Linked DNA regions of Homo sapiens: all the other regions are linked to region 3. Evidence: promoter capture Hi-C in 16 types of primary human blood cells and fetal thymus (Javierre and others, 2016). All regions are on one chromosome and are shown on one strand. Each heading gives the region's core, a stretch centred on a gene start or on the middle of the fragment in contact. The rest is flanking DNA. Distances are from core to core; before and after follow the strand shown.

Region 1 (4,768 bases), core at 1,325-3,824, 350 kb after region 3:
CCAGACAGCAGCCATCTCAGACACACACACCTCCATCTCTCCTCCTCCCCTGCCACACTCTCCTTCCTCCTGGCATTGCCCCCAAGTCCTTAATGCAGGCTCTGCTTTCAACGGACCCCAAATTAGGACAGAGGTATAAAAAAAATCTCACATGGCAGTGCCCCTCACAGATATGGTATAAATGCGAAGGTGGAAAATAGATTGAGAATGGCTCCTGTTCACAGCCAAAGTGAACCGTTTCATTCGGAAGCCAGGGTTGAGTGGTGCTGAACAAGCACTCACTCATTCATTCATTCATTCTTGGCCACGTGCTCTGTGCTAGGTACTGAGGACATCACACAAGGCCCCACCCTCATGGCCCCCACAGCCTGATGGTGAAGACAGAGACTGGGCGAATCATCACGCGGGGAATCGTTTCATGGATGGGTGATCGGCTAAGCACCGTCTTTGAACCTCAGACTACTTGGCTTTTCTGGGGGCCCAACTGTGCCCACTTATGGGTGAGAAAACTGGGGCCTGGAGTGCAGGGAGGGGCCTGTTGTCGTAGGAAGGTCAGACAGGTCAAAAGTGGTGGAGCTGAGGCCTGAACCCACAGCATCTAATCCGGAGCCGGCAGAGGCCCCTTGGCCCTCACATCTGCCGAGGAGTCACCTGGCCTGAGCGCTAGACAAATGCAAGACCTATAAGCCATTTTAAATGTTCCGGTAGCTACATTAAAACCAAATAAAAAGAAACTGGGGCCGGGCGCAGTGGCTCACGCCTGTAATCCCAGCACTTTGGGAGGCCAAGACGGGCAGATCACTTGAGGCCAGGAGTTTGAGACCAGCCTGGGCAACATGGAAAAACCCCATCTGTGTTAAAAAATACAAAAATTAGCTGGGCGTGGTGGTGTGTGCCTATAGCCCCAGTTACTTGGAAGACTGAGGCAGGAGAATCACTTGAACCCAGGAGGCAGAGGTTGCAGTGAACAGAGGTTGCAGTGAACGGAGGTTGCAGTGAGCGGAGGTTGCAGTGAGCGGAGGTTGCAGTGAGCGGAGGTTGCAGTGAGCCGAGATTGCGCCACTTCACTCCAGCCTGTCTCAAAAAAAAAGAAAAAAAGAAACTGGTAGAATTATTTCTCATACTATTTGTATTTAACCCAATAGATCCAAAATATTATCACTTTGACAGGTAATTAATATTTAAAATTATTAATGAGATATTTACTTTTTTTTCCATACTAAGTCTTTGCATTTGTGTGCATTTCACACTCAAGGCACACAGCAGTTCAGGCTAGCCACATTTTGAGTGCCCTGCGTGCAGGACAGTGCAGCCCTGGCCTCCGCTGTGTCACCACCGCTTGCCTTGTGACCTTGAGCAAGTCCCTTCTCATCTCTAAGTCTCCATGAGTTCCTCCCGGTGTGTCTTGGTCAGACAGCTATCACGGAGGGAAAGTGCATTGTAACCTCACTGTGAGCCGGCCACTGTAACCTTCCTTCCAGTCATCTGCCCTGGCCACCAAGGGACCCACACAGACAAAGTTGCTGAACTTGCATCTCTTGCTTTTGAGGGGGCACAGGTTTGGGGAGACAGACATCTGGTTCCCATTGTGGAAACAGATCTCTCCTCCCAAGCTTGGGCTCTAGAACCCCACCCCGGAGAGGGAGAGGGGCGGGGCTGGGGAGGAGCCAGTGATCAAGTCTTCCCCTGCCTCCACCCTTTTTTTTTTTCTTTTTAGAGCAGTTTTAGGTTCACAGCAAAACTGAGAGGAAGGTGTTGAGACATTTCATATGTCCCTTGCCCCAACCATGCATAGCCTCCCATTATCAATGTCCCTACCAGATGTGTTAGTTGAGAACCCACACTGACACATCATTATCACCCAACATTCTCTGCCCTTTTTTTTAGTGTGTCAAAACAGGTGAGGCTCTCTCACTTCGTCAAAGGTCTGCTCCTTCTCACCCTCCCCCAGGCTGAGCTCTTACGAGGACTAATTAGAGTCCATTTTAACCCAAATGACCTGTCACCTCCCTATTAAAATGCCAGACGACAGTTCTGCTCCTGCAGTATCTGGGACCATCTGGGACAGGGGAGTGAGGTTAAGGTTGGGTTTAGTAAGGGGCCTGCCACGGCTGCTTTAATGTTGTAAAGTGCAAAGTTGGTGCTTGGAGCTGGTGGAGTGGGAATGCGGCTTGCTCGTTGGCGCATTAGACACACATCTCTCCAGCGCCTTGGATGTTTATGCAGCTACTGTGAGGATGCTGGAGATACAGAGAGGAGAGGAGGCCGGCCTCGCCCCCAGGGAGTGCAAGTCTGGTGCAGCAGAGAAGACAGCAAGTAAACAGCCACAGTGAAGTGCCAGGGCCTGCAGGGGACGCGTGGGCAATGTGTGTGGGTGGACGTTCAGCCTGGGCCAGACGGTGGGAGCAGGAAGTTCAAAGCAGGGTGGCACGGAGCCTTTGATCAGGTGTGTGGCTGGAGGGCAGAATGCCAGAGAGACTGGCCAGCCGTGAGATGGGACCCGAGGCAGGTTGGGTCCAGGCCAGGGTGGGCCTTCAATACCAGGTTCAAGAGTATGAATATGGTCCTTTGTTCTCTAAGACTCCTGCTCCAAACAGCAGGACTGCTTGGCACAATTGCCAATTAGGTAGAAATGGGGCAATTCCATTCCATTTCCCCAATATTCATGGACCACTATTGATGGTCTGCTGCAGGGAATACAGAGATGCAAAAAGCATTTTTATTTTTATTTTTTATTTTTTTGAGACAGAGTCTTGCTCTGTTGCTCAGGCAAGAGTACAGTGGTGCAATCTCAGCTCACAGCAACCTCTGCCTCCCGGGTTCCAGTGAGTCTCCTGCCTCAGCCTCCTGAGTAGCTGGGACTACAAGCACATGCCACCACGCCCAGCTAATTTTTGTAACAAAAAGCATTTTTAAGGAAACCAAAAAATAGCCAAACAAAACCCTGGACTTCCATTTCCAGCCATATTGCAGGCTAGACAGCAGAAAACCCTCCTGCTACAACATACTACTTGGAAATGGTGGCCAAACTATAACAACTATCCTTTTAAATGCATGGCTGAGCTTGCAAGAAAGGAAAAGAACTCCCCAGGGACAAAAACACAGAAGCAGCTGAAAACTAGAGCAGGAATCGGGCGACAAAAACACAGAAGTAGCTGAAAACTAGAGCAGGAATCAGGCAGCCGATGTTGGTGTGGTGTGAGCAGCATGGGTGAGGTGGAGGGTGTTGGTCTCTGCAGTCTGGGGATTGGAGTTTATAGCCCCTCTGGGGACAATAAATGAGGCTTTGGGCTCCACAAAGCAAGGGATTGTAAATGAGACCCACCCCCAAACCAGACTCTCCAGAGTTACATTCTCAGTGAAAAGGTAGAGAAGGGTAAAAACCAGTCTCCACTCAGGCAGATCACCTGCCACATCCTGGGCTTGGAGTGGGGAAAGCAGGCTGCTCTGGGAATTTGTAACCATAGGCTTAGCCTCAGGGGGTTTGAGATTTAAATTTAGACTGCTACTTATAGGCTCTGGGGACTCCCAAAGCAAAAGCTTAACACAAAAACAGGTCCCTTGGCACGGGGCAGAAACAAATGCAAACGTGCACTAGAGGGCTATGACCTCAACCCAGGCTGCCCAGGGTTCCCACCAACAGATGCCCCTGCAGATGAGCTCACAAAGGTAAATTACAAAACAAAAGTAGCCATAAGTGAGATCCAGCTGCAAAACCAACAGTACAAGTGGACACCCCAAGAACCCCAGATGATAGATCCAGGAGATAGAGACCATAAAATAGCTATGATTAAAATTACTAATGACAGGCCAGGTGCAGTGGCTCATGCTTGTAATCCCAGTACTTTGGGAGGCTGAGGTTGGCAGATCACTCGGGCCCAGGAGTTCAAGACCAGCCTGGGAAACATGGCAAAACCCCATTTCTATGAAAAATACAAAAATTAGCATGGCGTGGTGATGCATGCCTGTGGTCCCAGCTACTCAGGAGGCTGAGGTTGGAGGATCACTTGAGCCTGGGAGGTCGAGGCTGCCTGCAGTGAGCCATGATCGTGCCACTGCACTCCAGCCTTGGTGACAGAGCAAGACCTTGTCTAAAAAGAAAAAGAAAAAAAAGACACCCAGCACTTTGGGAGGCAAAGGCAGGTGGATCAGTTGAGGTCAGGAATTCGAGACCAGCCTGGCCAAAATGGCAAAATCCCATCTCTACTAAAAATACAAAAATTCGCTGGGCATAGTGGTGTGCACCTGTAGTCCCAGCTACTCGGGAGGCTGAGGAAAGAGAATCGCTTGAACCTGGGAGGTGGATGTTGCAGTAAGCCGAGATGGCACCACTGCACTCCAGCCTGGGTGACAGAGCAAGACTCTATCTCAAAAAAAAAAAAAAAAAAAAAAGACATAAAGAAGTTTTGGGAAATATCAAAATGAATTAGATATTATGAAAAAAAAGCAGAGTTTCTGGTTAGAGACAGCAGAATAAACGCAGGTATTTATCCCTGCTACCTCCTGAAATGCCTTTAAAATGGCAGAATAGGCATTTTCAAAATATCACAATGACAAAGAAAATGGGATGTGAGGTAAGAGAAACAAAATTTTCAAATTGGAAAGCAGACGGATGAGTGAGAACCACCTTAGTGGATGAAAAAAAAAACAGTCCTAAACTGGCAGTAAGGAGGGCCTAGACACAAAAGAAACCCCCAAAGGCTAGGAATTGAGTACCAGGTGCTTCTGGCAGCAGAGGTAAGGAGCATATTGAACCACAGGGGATTTG
Region 2 (4,824 bases), core at 1,475-3,974, 290 kb after region 3:
GCCGGCCAGGTGGTGGGCAGTGACGTGGGCAGCCAGAGGCCTGGGCTAGTGCCTGGATTCCCATCCCAGCCGCACTGTGACTCAGCGGCCTGGGGCGAGTCACCCACCCGCAGAGCCTCGGTTTTCTCCTCTGTAAAGTGGGGGTGATAAGGGCACAGAATGAGCCTGAGCAGGTGCAGCTCTCAGCACAGGGCGTGGGGTTCTGTGGGCAGTGCCCTCCAGGCACCTCCTCCCTTGGTGGTGATGGATCAAGATCGTTCATGGAACTGTGTTGGGAACATATAGATGAGGAATTCCATTTGCTATGACAATTATTATTCAATGGCTTCCCGAGTCAGGAATGTAGGTCCTGCCCACGCAGGAGCTGTGTCTCTGGTGTGAGCTCCAGGGCCCCTCCTTCTCTGCCCTCCACATGTAGCCGGGAGGTCTGAGCAGGTCTTGTTTTTCAGCAATCCCCCCGCCCTTCCCTGGAGGGAAGGCGATATCCACAATTCCTTCCTGAGCACCTACTGTGTGCCAGGCATGGAGAGGCACCAGAGGCGAAGACGGGCCCAGTGTGGTCAGGGGTATAATGGGGGCACCAGGGTCTATGGGAGGCTGGAGGCAGCCCCTGACCTTGCCTATTGTTAGGGGGAGGGAGCACAAAAGGCTTCTAGAAGAGCAGGTCTAACCTGAGACCCAAAGCTTGAATAGGAGTCAACCAGGCTGAGGGTGTGGGATGCTCTGGCAAGGGGCACGCAGTGTGCGCAAAGGCCTGGGGCGAGAGGAACAGGACTCATTAGAACACGGCTTGCAGGCATGTTCGTTTCAATATCCCACGGGGTGGGAGGGGTCATGGGGAGCCATGGAAAGTTTTAGGCAGGAAGTAACATATTCAGAAGCACCTTCCAGAAAGACTGCTCTGGCTATCCTTTGGAAGAAGGATTGCAGGGCAGAGCAGAAGCAGGGAGGCCACCAAGGTGGCTGCTGCAGACATCTGGATGATAATGGGGGTCTGGACCAGGGCGGCAAAAGTCGGGGAAGGGAAGTGATTAAAAAGATGTAGGCCAGACGCAGTGGCTCACGCCTATAATCCCAGCATTTTGGGAGGCTGAGGCAGGAGGATTGCTTGAGCCCAGGAGTTCAAGACCAGCCTGGGCAACATAGCAAAACCCTGTCTCTACAAAAAATACAAAAATTAGCCAGGTATGGTGATGTGGTCCTGTAGTCCCAGCTACCTGGGAGGCTGAGATGGGAGGAACGCTTGAGCCCAGGGGGTTGAGGCTGTAGGGACCTGTGATGGTGCCACTGCACTCACTCCAGCCTGGGTGACAGAGTGAAACCCTGTCTCAAAAAAAAAAAAAATAAAAATAAAAAGAAGGTATAGAGGGTAGATCTGACAGGACAAGAAAGTGAGGGTCAAAGAGGGTGGGCCATGGGCTGGATGGGGGGCCATCTCTGAGGCAGCCCATAGAAGAGAAGTGGGTAGGGGGACTCTCCATGGCCCTGAGTCCCCACAGCTCTGCTGGGTTCCTCAGTACAGTCCTGCCCCTAGAACTGCCCTTCTTAGGCTGCAGCGGGGAGCTGCACTGGATGGAAACCCACAGGTCTGTGGCAGGTGGAGGCCTCATGGGTAGACAGCTGGCAGTCCTGGGGCCAAGTCCCAGGACATGGGGTCCCTGCCTGCAGCCAGCAGAGGACAGAAGCCTCGGCCTGGACTTCCCACTTCCCGGATGAGGCATCCCAAGCTCCGCAGAGGAGGAGGGCCTTGCCCTGGGTGGTGGGGGTTTCTCTCAGCCCCCCATTCTTGTTCCTTAGGTTTCCTCGTCTCTGAGACGGGTAGATGCAGATGGACAGACTCAGCCACCCGCCCCAGAGGGCCTGGCAGCTGAGCAAACACTGCACGGGGCCTTGATCGGACACAGGAGAATGAGGGGGTGGGGGGTGGCAGCGGTCAGAGCCCACAGGCCCCAGGAGAGTTTGTAGAAGAGAAGTGGAACAGCAGTCCTGGGGGTGCCCAGCCTATGGCTGGTTCCTCACCCCAACCCCCTGCCCTCCTCACCTCACCCGCTCCTTGGTTCCAAGTGCTGAAAAGTTAAGCTCCCAAAATGTGGGGTCCTCCATGACTCCCTCCCCCCATACTCAGTCATAATCAAGTCCTGCTCCCTCTGCCACCAAATCTGTCCCCCCTCTCCCCCCAGCCACCCCCAAGTACAGCTGGACCATCTCTCCCAGGACACCAGCCTCCCTGGGCGTCCTGCCTCCTTCTTCCCTCCCACCTCCTCAGTGCAGCCCCAGGGAAGCCTAGGGACCCTTTAAAGATGCACTGGGCTTGCGTCAGGCCCCGCGTGTCCAGGCACCGGCCCCACCCAAGGCTCCACCGAGGTCATCTCCCAGCACTGACCTGCTCCTCCTCGCAGCCCCTGGTCTCCTTCTATTTCCCACAGTTCCGCCCCTTCCTCTCCTCCAGCCTTGCACTTGCCACTCCTGCCACTTAGGTGTCCCCAGCTCTTCCCAGGGCTGCCCCTACCTTCAGATCTCAGCTTGGACGTCACCTCTCCCAGGAAGGATCTGGCCCAGGCCGCATGCTCTGCCTTCCCTCCATCATTGCAGTCTTCAAAACGCTTCTGAAACCTGAACTACTTGGGGCTGCCCTACAGGAAGCTCCCTGAGGGCAGGTGCTGGCCTCTCTTGCTCGCCTGTGTGCATTGTTGTCAGGTGCCTGAGTGAAGGAGCACATAAATTGGCAGCCGCTGCCTTAGGGTCGGAGAAGGCTCTGACTTTGCAGCCAGTGGGTGGTCACAGAATGCAACACCAGTGGCACATGTGCAGGTGTGGGTGTGTGTATGTGTGAACATATGTGTGCATGTGTGTGTGCAGTGTGCATCATGTGTGCAGGTGGGGAGTGCATATGTGTGCAAGTGTGCATGTGTGTCTCGTGTAGGTGTGTGCACAGTGTACAACTGTGTGCAAGTGTGTACAGTGTTTCTGCATGTGTGCAGAGTGTACCTGTGTGTGTGCGTGTGGACAGTGTGCACCGGCGTGACACTGTGTCGAATGTGTGTGCACAGTGTACCTGTGTGTGTGCATGTGGACAGTGTGCACCGGCGTGACACTGTGTCTAGTGTGCACCGTGTACCTGTGTGTGTGTGTGTGGACAGTGTGCACCGTGTACCTGTGTGTGTGTGTGGACAGTGTGCACCGGCGTGACACTGTGTCGAATGTGTGTGCACAGTGTACCTGTGTGTGTGCATGTGGACAGTGTGCACCGGCGTGACACTGTGTCTAGTGTGCACAGTGTACCTGTGTGTGCATGTGGACAGTGTGCACAGTGTACCTGTGTGTGTGTGTGTGGACAGTGTGCACCAGCGTGACACTGTGTCAAATGTGTGTGCACAGTGTACCTGTGTGTGTGCATGTGGACAGTGTGCACCGGCGTGACACTGTGTCTAGTGTGCACAGTGTACGTGTGTGTGTGTGTGGACAGTGTGCACCGTGTACCTGTGTGTGTGTGTGTGGACAGTGTGCACCGGCGTGACACTGTGTCGAATGTGTGTGCACAGTGTACCTGTGTGTGTGTGTGTGTGGACAGTGTGCACCGGCATGACACTGTGTCGAATGTATGTGCACACGTGCACACATGTCTAGACTGCCTGAGTGCAGCCATGTGTCCTTTCCTGTCGGTAAGGAAGAGGAACCAGGGGACAGATCCTGGCATGGGGACACAGCCACTGGCTGTTGAGATGTGCCAAGCCCTCCAGCCTGGAGGCCAACGTCCTGGCCCTGGCCCTTCCCTGCTGAGGGACCCTGGCCCTGACCCTTTCTTCTCTGTGCCTCCACGGACCACAGGTTACATGAAACTCCCGTGAGCAGTGCACCTGAGGAAAACTGCAGCTTCCCAGCCGGTCCAGAGACTCGTTCTGCTGATGCGGAGGGGCCCAGGAATGCCAGGAATGGGCATTTAGCAACCCCTCCCCCTTCCCCATGCAATTGTGACGTGCTCCTGGGAGCTGTGACACTTGGTGACCTGGCCCCTCTGAGCCTGTTTTCCCACCCATCAAGTGGGGATAAAAACAGGACTGCCCCAGGAGGTCACTGTTAGGGTCAGTGAGCTGGGGCTCCAGGAGGGCCTGATACACGGTAGGTGCTTCATCCCTGGGCACTGGGGTTGCTCCTGCTGTGCCCAGGGGTGGCGAGGCTGCCAAAGATGCTGGAAGGGTCTGCAACCAGAGTAGGGTGGGCGGGGCTCTGGGGCTTCTGGATGGCAGGGACTCTTTTCCAACACAAGCTGCACCCAGGCGGGGATGCGTAGCTCGGTACCTACAGGGAGGGTGTGAGGTCGCGAGGCCCAGAGCCACTCTCCTCCCCTGAGAACGTGGTCTCAGCCTCGCCGCACTGTGTGTGAAGCACCCCCTGCTCCTCCCAGGCACTGGAGGTCCTCCCACCCCACGGCTTGCTCCTTGGTCTGAGCATCACAAGAGAGAGAAGATGTGGTTTGGGCAGGGACTCCTGCACAGAAGAAGAAAAGAAAGCCAGAGATGTTGCTTCCTCTGACCAAGGTCACACAGCGAGTCCAGGCTGAGGCGAGGCAGGGCTTCTGGTCTCTGCCACTCAGTGGGACCCAAATCCGTGGGGAGATGTGCGGGGAAAGGGGAGCAGTGGAGCTGCATGGTCTGGGGCGGGACAAGTCAGCCACAAGCACCTTGGAGAAAATTGACTTCTCATTCCTTTATTCATTCAACAATTATTCATTGGGAGGCTGAGGCGGGCGGGTCACTGGAGGTCAGAAGCTTGAGACCAGCCTGGCCAATGTGGTGAAACCCCATCTCTACTAAAAATACAAAA
Region 3 (5,425 bases), core at 1,067-3,566:
TCCCGGCCCCTCCCTCCCCCGGGGCCGCCGGGGATCCAGGTGAAGGAATTGACTTCCTTTTTTGTTTAGTGAGGACCGCAGTGCTAGGCATGATGGGAAATGTAGTCCGCCGTGCCCGCCCCCCACCCCTTACCCAGTGTCCGAGAGTGTCGGGGTGTCAGGCGCCACCCCCGAGTCCGGGAGACGGGTGGAGGAGGGGAGGAGAACGGAGCCAGAGGGGCGGGGAGAAGAGGGGTTCAAGACACCCGCCCCGGGAAGAAAAGAAAAAAAAAGTTGAAGTGTTTTCATTTCTGCCTTCTCATTTTGAGAACTTTGGAGTCCGCCCCCAGAGAGGAAATGTGACCCAAACGTCCCTTTCGGAGATAGAGTTTGCCTTTGTTTTTGCTCAGAATTTCACAAGACCCATTCCTCACCCCACAGAGGGACTCGGGAGAGCGGAACGTCGGGCTTCCCGGGTCTGACAACTGATTGGAATCGGCTTCCCAGGTCCGGCGCCCTCCTGAGCTGCGCCCCCGGCGCGCCCCGGCGGCCAGGGCGCCCTGCCTCGCCCCCGGCTGCCCGGCACCTCCTCCGGGCAGCAGCCCTCCCTCACGTGGTAGGCTCCTCGCTAAACACCACTGCAATCACTACAATAAAAAGAAAAAAAGGAGTAGGAGAAACACAAAGCATACTTAAATAGGCGCTTTTTCTCTCTGCAAAAATAAAGTCCAAGATTTTAGATTTCTTTTTTTTTTATTTTACAATTTATAAAACATCAGCCGCCTGCCCCCGCTCGCCCCCAGCTCAGCCCCGAGTGGCCCGGCGCCCGCTCGTTCCCTCCTCTCGCCCCTTTGCCGAGTCTTTGTCTGGCCCCAGCCCCGCGGGGCCCCGGGTCCCTGTGCCCTCGGGGGTCCCTAGAAGGCGACAATGGCTCGAGTCCAGGCGCCGAGGCTGGCGAGCGCCTGCTTGGCGCACAGCTGCCCGTTGAGCGGCGGCGGCTGCTCCGAGGAGTCCGGCTGTCGGCTCACCAGCCCCGAGAAGCCGGAGCCAAAGATGGAGATCAAGTTTGAGATGTTGGACGCGTCCGGGGACGAGTCCGGGCAGAAGTCCTCGAAGCGGGCGCGCTTGCAGGGGGCGAACGGGGCGCCCCCGGGGGGCTCGGCCCCCAGCCCGCCCGCATCCTCCTCGTCGTCTTCCTCCTCCTCCTGGCCAGGGTAATACTTGCGCTTGCAGCCGGCGGCGGACGCCAGGCCCGGTCCCGGAGCGCCCTGGCCACAGCAGGGGCAGTGGGCGGAGGCGCAGCAGTCCTGGTGCAAGTAGCCGTTCTCCACCGTGGTCACCACGTGAGTGTCTAGGTCCAGCACGGTGGTCTGGCTGCTGCAGTGCAAGCCGAAGTCCGAAGGGGTAGGGTATGCGCCCCGGTAGAAGCCGGGGGAGGAGGCGGGGGCCGGGGAGGCGGGCGGAGAAGCGGCGGCGGCCGGAGGGGCGGCCCCTGGGGGCGCGGAGCAGGCGGCCGGGGCGCGAGGGTCCCGCGGGCAGAGCGCAGCGGGCGCGGGCGGCGGCAGCGGCAGCGGCAGCGGCGCAGGACCCGGCTGCAGAGGCTCCAAGGGCTGCCCGCGGTGGGGCGCGCCGTGCGGCGGCTGGAGCGCGGCGCACCCGGGCAGCTCCGAGAGCGCCCCCGCGCCGCCCGCGGGCGCTCCGGCCGCCGCCGCCGCCGCGCAGCCCCTGGGCGCCGGGTGCTGGTGCTGGTGCAGCTGCTGCTGGAGGTGCAGCTGGTGGAGCTGGTGGAGCTGGTGCAGCTGGTGCCGGGCGGCCGGCTCGCGCGCCTCCGCGTCCCCGCCGCCGCCAAGTTGGAGCGGGCCGAAGTCGGCCGCGCTGGCCGGCATGCCCGGCGCCGCGTACGCTAGGTGCTGGTGCTGGTGGTGGGGCGGCTGCTGCTGTTGCTGCTGCTGCTGGCGCCGGTAGAGCTCGGCGTAGCGCTCGCTCAGGTAGAGCTGGCGCGCGTTGCGGAGCACGTAGGACACCAGGAGGTTCTTGTGCAGCTTGATGCCGCCGCGCTGGGTTCGGGAGCTGTGGATCTTGCGCAGGGAGATGCTGATCAGGCTCTGGGCGTCCAGGGCGCACTCCATGCTCCCGCGGAGACGGCGGCGGAGCAGCCGCCGCCGCTGCTGCTGTTAACGCTTCTGCTGTTTCTGCCTCCAGCCGGCCGCCGGGGCGCGCCGGGCAGGGGTAACGGAGTCCGGGTCAGAGGTTCGGCTGCGCTCCGAAAGGAGCCGCCACCATGCGCCGCGCGCCACCCGCGGGCTCGCGCTCCCCAGACGGCGCCAAAGCAATGAGTCTCGGCCGGCCCCGGCCCCAGCTATTTAGCCGGGTGCCCGGGCCCCGCCCCACATGAGAAGAGCCAATAGGAGCTCTGAGAGTCTCCTGAGTGACAGGCGCAGCCCGCCCCGGGGCTACTCGGCTGGCCAATCAGACCAAGGCGGTTCCTTTGTGCTATTCAAATACCGAACGGACCCCGGGCCTCCAACGCCGCTGCTGCCTCGAATGTTCTCCTGGGGCTGCCGCGCCGCGCGGGACTCGGAGCCGCCGGGGCCGCAGTCTGCAGCATAGGTCGCCTGGCAGCGGCCACGTTGAAGCCCGCGGCTGCCCTCGCCTTAGGTCCCGGGAGCCGGGGGTCGGCTCACCTGAGTGCTGCGGCGACGGCTCCTCCCCTTTCCGCACGGCTGGGCCTCACCTGCGGCAGGTGCGCGCCGCTCATCGCTCCCCCAGCGGCGCGGCGCCTCCACCTGCGCACCTGTCGCCCCCCCGAGTGACCCGCGGGAGTCAAGGCCTCTCTACAGGAGGCTGGTGGAGCCGCCGGCTTGACACTGGGGAACATCAAAGGAGCGAGGTTTTGGGGGTACCCTCTACCGCAGAGAATGTAGGGCCTGACTCCTTGACTTTTTGGTCGAGGGGCCTCTGGGAATGCTTGCGGAAGGGAAGTCCTCCCCATTTGTCTGACAGGAAAAACCAAAACATCGTGAATTTTGACCTTCTCTGATGGAGAGAGTTCCGAGGCCAGGCATGACCCAGGGAGTGTGTGGACCTCGCGACCAGCTGAGGCTCAAAAGCGTCCTGGGAGCCGAAACGCTGAGTGCCCTAATCACCAGCTCTGTAACCTTTCCTTTCGTGCCTAACTAATAATAATGACAATAGGGACTATTATTATGGGCCTAATATGGGGCAGGCCCTTCCCAGCAACTCCCCAATGCCTCACTCTAACGTTTGTAGAGGAGGGGCCTGAGGCTCGGAGGAGTGGAGTGACTTGGGGAACCACACAGTTCCCAGGGGGCGGAGCTAGGAGCTGGGACAGGACCCTGCGCTCGAGACGGGAGGTGAATACCAAAGGCCCGGGGACTCACCGACTTAACTTCTGTTGACACAGCTTTCCTTCTTATCCTGAACCCTTCAGGTCCCAGCTGGGGACTGAGACAGTGGGAGAAGAGAGGGACAGGATTGCTGATTCCTGGGGGCGCTCTATCTGGACCAAGAGGCCTGAAGGGGGCTGGTTGCTGCTCCCAGGGGTTTCAAAGGTGCCTGGGGTGGGGGCTGCCCAGACAGCTCTGGAGGCTCTTGGAAATGGTCTGGAGGTTTGCCTGAGGAGGGTCCATGAGTGGATCCCTGAAGGATGAACGAGGTCTGCAGAGTCTCCCAGAGATAGGTGGACCTTGTGGGGCTGGACTCAGGGGGGAGGCCCATGACCAGACGTCCTGCTGCTTCACCGCCTCCTCAGGGGATCTTCTGAGTCTCTGCTTTTTGGGGCTTCCTTCTGAGTTCTCAGCACCTACTTCATCCCTTGGTGGGAGTGGAGAGACCCAGTAGCCCACCCTGTGGTCTCTGGGTCTTTCTTTAGTCTTAAGAATTTCCAAGATTTCTGCAAAAGTTTCTTAGCATCTACTCCATGCCAGGCGTTGAGAGTGAAGACAGAGTTAGCGGGTGTTTACTTCATTTTTCCGATGAGGAAACTCGGACACTGACAGCGTGAGACTTGCCCAAGATCACATGGCCCCAGGGCTGGTGCTGTGTCCTTCCCTTGGCCCCCTCGAACAATCTCAAACGCTTTGGGCCCCTGTGACCAATAGCACCTCTCCAGGCCTCCTCCCAGAGAAGCCAGGATTGAAATTTCAGGGGACTTCAGATAAAGGATGTCCTACCTACATTTTATTGGTGATACAGACCTACAGGCTGTGGAACTTGCTCAGGTGATAACACGTAGAAGTAAAAATACACTGCCCTTCACTTCCCTGGTGCCTGTCTTAAAGGCACACAAAGACTTTATTTATGGCCGGGCGCGGTGGCTCACGCCTGTAATCCCAGCACTTCGGGAGGCCGAGGCGGACAGATCACGAGGTCAGGAGATCAAGAGCTTCCTGGCTAACACAGTGAAACCCTGTCTCTACTAAAAATCACAAAAAATTAGCTGGGCGTGGTGGCGGGTGCTTGTAGTCCCAGCTATTTGGGAGGCTGGGACAGGAGAATGGTGTGAACCCGGGAGGCGGAGCTTGCAGTGAGCCCAGATGGCGCCACTGCACTCCAACCTGGGCAACAGAGTGAGACTCCGTCTCAAAAAAAAAAAAAAAAAAAGACTTTATTTATTTATGTTTGAAGTTCACCTTTGAGACATCACTAGCATGCAGAGGGATCTGGGAGCTCTTACCGGCTTTACAGCTGTGAGGACTCTGTATGCAACAGTGAAGTCTGGGATCCACAGTGTCTGGCACACTGCAAGCCCACAGCTCCAGAAAATATTATCAGCACTGATTTGGGGTCTTCTTTCTGTCATGGCCCAGTGTTTATTGGGGGAAACTAAGAGTTTACACACCTTGCTTGAGGTCACATACCAGCAAGGGGTGGAGTCAAGATCTGAGCCCAAACCCATCTGTTTCCAGGGTGGGAGTTCACCAGAGGTTCCTCCAAATCAGCTTCCGCTGTCAGTGGAGCCAAGGCCAGTTCTCAGGGCCCAGCTCTTGGTGAATATGATCTTGGTTTGATCGACCCCCACCGCTTTACTGCCAAGTGCTGTGGGACCAGGGCCCATAAGGAAGCAAATGTCAGTCTCAGCCTCAGCCCCTCATTCAGAGCTGTACCCCAGAACATGAATCTGGGGGCCCAGATGGGGAAACAGGGCAGGGATGGAGGTGGATTTCCACCTACAGGTTGGGGGCAGAAGGACCAGGCCCCTCACATGGGCAGCTCCTCGTGGCACCTCCTAGTCCCCCACAAGGTGAGTTTGGGGATCTTTGAAGTTCCTTTCATTCACTGGGGCCAGCTGAGAAGTGGTCAGCCTCTTCTGGGTGGCCCCATCCTCTGGGTCTGTTGGGGGCCCACACTCTGTCTCTCCTCTTTCTCAAGAACTGAGAAGTGGGCTAATGGGGAGGGCTCAGCAGTTGTGCAGCTTCATAAAAAC
Region 4 (4,908 bases), core at 1,673-4,172, 260 kb after region 3:
GTGTGCGCGCGCGCGCGTGCCTGACCGCGGCGTGCGTGCCGGCGGGAGGAGGGGGCGCCGAGGCCGGGCAGGGGATTTAAAGCTGCTTTCGCGGCTGCCGGCGTGAGCGCTCGTGATAAACAGCCCGGAGCCGAGCCGCCGCGCAGCCGGGCGGGAGGCTGCGTATCAGAGCTCCTGGCAGGCTCGCAAAAAGCTGTCCCCGGCCCGCCGCCGCTCTATCAGCCCACGGAGGGAGGGCGGCGGGGGAGGGAGGGAAAAAGTATTTGCTTCAGCCCTTAATCACGGAATTTGAAATCCCAGCGAGTCGGTGCCATTTATTTTCAGAGGCTGTCAAGGCTGGTTTCAGCATTTAAAAGAAAGGAGGATAAAACGCATTTGCATTTCTCCCCCACTCTCGCTGCGCGCTCGCCGGCGCTCCCCCTCGTTCCCTGCGCAGCTCGCGGGTCGGGCGTTGGCGGGGAGGGGGAGGCCAGAGGCTTTTCAAGGCGCTGGGGGCTCCGGCCGGCCCGGTGGGGGCCTCCCCCCGCCAGAGTCAGGGGTGTCGGGCGATTCCGGGGTGGGGGCCCGAGTCTGGTCCAGCGGGGCTCTGGGTGGCAGAGGGGGGAAGGTTAAGCGGGGCTGCTGGCTTGGGGAATTTGGGGCCGTCCGCGGGGCTCTCCTCGGGCTCCAAGCTTTCACCCCAGAAAACAGCCCTGAACCCCAAATTTGCTCCAGCCCCAGGGGGCCCTACCTGCCCTTCCTGGCTTCCCCAGTGGAAATCTAAGGTACTGGAGGCTTCCAGGGGAGCCAGGGCACCCCTAGGACAACCCCCTCTCTCTGCAGATGGGGAAACTGAGGCCTGGAAACAGAGAACGGTGGGACCAAGGTCACATGATGGCGGAAGGAGGACAAGGAAGGAGGCTGACTGCGTATCCAGCACGTGTTCCGTGCCAAGCCTGTGCAGGGGCCAAGGACCGGGGTCTCTGGACAGCGCCGGTTGCTGGGTCCCACGCTGGGCGACAGGGCCTTTGCAATCAGGCCGACAGGGTTTGAACCCTTGCCGCGGCACTTTCCAGATGGCCTTGGCCACTGTCCCCTCTCTGACCTTCAGATGGAGCCCATGGCACCTCCGGAGGGGGTGTGTGCTTCCAGGACCAAATCCACTTGTGCGTGGTTAGGCACGAGGTGGGGGGAGGCGGCTCAGCCACCGGGACCTGTCCTGCCTCCACCCTCTGTGCAACCCCTTTCCTTGCCTTTTGTCTCTGTTGCTTTTGGGGGGTGATTAGCCGCTAGCTCAGCGGCTAGAGGATTCTCTCCCGGAAAAGGCTCCGGAGTTGAGGCCCAGACCCCCAGGGCAAGACGGAATCTGCTCCCCAGGGCACTAACTGAGACTCGGTTCCCTCACTGGTAAAATGAGAAAACTCACTTATGGTCAGGGGTCCCCGAGTTAATGCCAGTGAATTCCTTGGCAGAGCATCAAGCACTTGGAGAAGCCCCCACCCCCGGTCATTGTGATGATGGTTTGTTTGTTTGTTTGTTTGTTTTGAGACGGAGTCTCGCTCTGTCGCCCAGGCTGGAGTGCAGTGGCGCGATCTCGGCTCACTGCAAGCTCTGCCTCCCGGGTTCACGCCATTCAGGTGATGATGTTTTTTATTTATGTGCCCACCTGCCCCACTCCGTAGGGCCCCTCGAGGCCAGGACTGCACCGTTCATCTCGGAATTCGCTTGTTCCTAACTTAGGGGAGTGGCGCCGAGACACCGTGTAGCGCCCATGCCAAGGAGGAAGCGAGACAGCAGGAGCGGAGGAAAGAACCCCGGGCTGTGTTGAGGAAGCCTCCTACTTTTGCCTGAAGTGAGGTTGTTGTTGTTGTTGTTGTTGTTTTTTCCACGTGCCTTATTCATCCACGTAACCTCAGCCTCTAGTGCAGCGTCCTATTTTTTGGCTTGTATTATTATTTTTAATTGGCACATAATAATTGTACATATTTATGGGATGCAGTGTAATATTTTAGTACACATATACAATGTGTATTGGTCAAATCAGGGTAATTAGCACATTCAGGGTTGGAGTTTTTCTGTCAATACAGATACTTATAGAAACTTTTTTTTGTGTGAGATAGGGTCTTGCTCTCTTGCCCAGGCTGGAGTGCAGTTGCATGATCACAGCTCAAGCCATCCTCCCACCTCAGCCTCCCGAGCAGCTGGGACTACAGGCACAGGCCACCAAACCCGGCGAATTTTTTATTTCTTCTAGATATAGAGTCTCACTATGTTGCCCAGGCTGGTGTCAAACTCCTGGGTGCAAGTGGTTCTACCACCTTGGCCTCCCAAAGTGCTGGGATTACAGGTGGAAGCCACCACGCTTCCCTAAAAATGCCAGTCAATATTATATGTCCTGTTTGGCAATTTATTGCACCTCATTATTTTTCCTGGCTGCGTAGTATTCCATTGTGCACATGTACCTGTATGTGGTTATCCAATCCCCAGAGGATGGGCACATAGGTTGTGTCTCGTTTTGTCCTCTGACCTCAGGGCTGCAGAGAACAGGCTGGCCTCATACAGCAGGCATCATTATTGGTGTCAGTGGGGCCCCTGTTCTGATAGTCACAGAGAGGCACGGGTGGCTGTGGGAAGCTCTATCCCCTTTCATAGGGAAAGGCAGTTTAGGGCTCTGGAAAGCCAGGGCTGGGAGGGAAATGGCGTCAGGGAAACCAGCATAGAAGTCCCTATCTGGCCATCTTGGCGGAACCCAAAGCCTCGAGTCCACAGTGGGCACCTGACTCAGCAGGGAGGAGGGTGGGAGGCCTAGAGCTTTGTGGCAAGGCAGGCAGGGCTTTCCTTCTTGATTCCTTCCTTCCTTCCTTCCTTCCTTCCTTCCTTCCTTCCTTCCTTCCTCCCTCCCTCCCTCCCTCCCTTTTCTTTTCTTTTCCTTTTCTTTCTTTCTTCTTTCTTTCTTTTCTTTCTTTCTTTCCTTCTTTCTTTCTTTCTTTCTTTCTTTCTCTCTTTTTCTTTCTCTCTCTCTCTCTTTCTTTCTTTTTTTTCTTTTTTTTTTTTGAGACAGAGTCTTGCTTTGTTAACCCAGGCTGATGTGTAGTGGTGTGATCTCGGCTCACTGCACCCTTCACCTCCCAGGTTCAAGCGATTATCCGGCCTCAGCCTCCCAAGTAGCTGGGACTACAGGTGTGCACCAGCACAGCCAGATAATTTTTGTATTTTTAGGAGAGATGGGATTTCGCCATGTTGGCCAGGCTGGCCTCAAACTCCTGGCCTCAAGTGATCCACCCACCTCGGCTCCCAAAGTGCTGGGATGACAGGTGTGAGCCTCCGCGCGTGGCCTCCTTCTTGATTCTGTTGTTTGTGCCTCAAAGGGAATATTCAGAGTGTGGCTCATGAAGTCTGGCCAACCTCCATCGGTTTGCAAGCTCTGGCACCTCGGAGCCTCCGTTTCCCAATCTATAATAAGAGGACAGTAATGGCACCCACCTCACAGGGCAGCTGTGAGGGCTCCATGAGGGAGTCCAGGCAAAGCCTTTCAGCGAGTTTCCTGAAATGCTGTGAGGTCTCAGGGAAGGCTTGCCATCGTCATTATTGTTTCTAACGACATTTTCAGAAATCTGAATGTAAAAAGACCTTCTCTGAGTTGGGTGTCAAAACCAGAAAAAGTCTGTGGTGGGATGTGTGTGTGTGTGTTTCCTTCTCACACTGTCCCTTGCACGTGGGCCCGGGCCCCTGCCTGGTTCTCTCTTTCTCACTATCTGGGACCCCCTAGACTAAATCCATCTCTCCAAGAATCACTGTCTTGCCCCCTCTGTCCTTCTGAGACCTGGGTGGCCTGGGGGGAGAAGCGCCCACCCCCCAACCCCGTCCGCACCACCACTTTCCCATCCAGCCCCACCCTCAGCCTCCTTAATACAGGCTCACCTGGGGCCTCAGTGCCCAGTCCTCCCAGCGCCCGCCCCAGCTGCACTTGAGTCCTGGATCTATCATCAGCCCTTGCTGTGGGAAGTGGCTTTAACCTCCCTGGGCCTCAGTTTCTCTATCTGTAAAATGAGGAGCATAATAAAAAGAACATAAGGTTTTTCTGCCCCCTGCCCACCCCTGCTGAAACAAACAAGCAGACAAGAAATTCATAACCCCCCAGAGGCACTTAGAGCCTGGGAGATTCAGCCGCAAAGGAGTGATCACAGGGTCACAGGGTCCTGGGATGCACAAGGCTCCTTCTCTCCCTTTCCTCCAGGAGGAGTTGGATTTACTTCTGTAAACCCCTGCCCTCCCTTGACCCTGTGCACTCTGGGGAGCACCTAGATTTGCAGGCACGGTGGAGGCAGAGCTGAGCTGAAAGGTGGGGTGTGGGCTCCCCCAGAGCAAGCTCTTCCGGCACCCTGGTGGGATGTGCAGCTGCATTGCTGGCTCAAGACGCCCCCACACCCAACTAGGATCTTTTTTTTTTGAGACGGAGTTTCTCCCAGGCTGAAGTGCAATTGGCGCGATCTCAACTCACCGCAACCTCCGCCTCCCAGGTTCAAGCGATTCTCCTGCCTCAGCTTTCCATGTACCTGGGATTACAGACATGCACCACCATGCCTGGCTAATTTTTGTATTTTTAGTTAAGACAGGGTTTTGCCGTGTTGGCCAGGCTGGTCTCGAACTCCTGACCTCAGGTAATCCACCTGCCTCGGCCTCCCAAAGTGCTGGGATTACAGGCGTGAGCCACCGCGCCTGGCCTCAACTCAGATCTTTAACTCCACTACCATTTGTGAGTGTTCCGCGTGGGCTACATCCTAGGCCAAGGATTTTCTCACCCTGGCCTCAAGAAGATGGAACGGGGCAAGACCTGAGAAGCATGTAGACCTTCAGGATTTTCTCAGTCTGTCAGTTAATCTTGTTTATGATCGATGAGCAAGTCTCTCTCCCTCTCAAAGCCTCAGT

The links. The method cuts DNA at HindIII sites, captures the fragments that hold promoters and counts their contacts. A CHiCAGO score of 5 or more calls a contact.
Region 1: a fragment that was not itself captured here is called in contact with the fragment with the promoter of IER5L in region 3 in 3 of 17 cell types (endothelial precursors, M2 macrophages and non-activated CD4 T cells); the score reaches 5.8 in endothelial precursors.
Region 2: a fragment that was not itself captured here is called in contact with the fragment with the promoter of IER5L in region 3 in 3 of 17 cell types (M1 macrophages, M0 macrophages and total CD8 T cells); the score reaches 8.8 in M1 macrophages.
Region 4: a fragment that was not itself captured here is called in contact with the fragment with the promoter of IER5L in region 3 in 5 of 17 cell types (M1 macrophages, total CD8 T cells, monocytes and 2 more); the score reaches 6.9 in M1 macrophages.

What each region holds. Positions count from the first base shown.
Region 1 is chr9:129,522,768-129,527,535 of GRCh38, forward strand. No RefSeq gene overlaps it. Among named protein-coding and RNA genes, the nearest start is that of LINC00963, 36 kb to the left of the region's middle. RefSeq lists an enhancer at 2,283-2,783. The HindIII fragment of the contact is 1,927 bases long and covers 1,612-3,538 here.
Region 2 is chr9:129,465,582-129,470,405 of GRCh38, forward strand. No RefSeq gene overlaps it. Among named protein-coding and RNA genes, the nearest start is that of LINC00963, 21 kb to the right of the region's middle. RefSeq lists enhancers at 3,159-3,970, 3,971-4,782. The HindIII fragment of the contact is 4,085 bases long and covers 683-4,767 here.
Region 3 is chr9:129,175,945-129,181,369 of GRCh38, forward strand. It overlaps IER5L (immediate early response 5 like), which reads right to left and starts at 2,317. Exons shown (of 1, transcript NM_203434.3): 1 at 1-2,317. The coding sequence starts at 2,108. The coding sequence ends at 894. RefSeq lists silencers at 82-131, 472-621, 1,572-1,911, 2,142-2,521 and enhancers at 2,246-2,540, 2,278-3,201, 3,202-4,125. The HindIII fragment of the contact is 12,631 bases long and covers 1-5,425 here.
Region 4 is chr9:129,437,044-129,441,951 of GRCh38, forward strand. LOC105376291 (a long non-coding RNA gene) reads left to right here and starts at 103. Exons shown (of 3, transcript NR_188645.1): 1 at 103-1,616; 2 at 1,720-1,836. RefSeq lists an enhancer at 1-491. The HindIII fragment of the contact is 4,506 bases long and covers 670-4,908 here.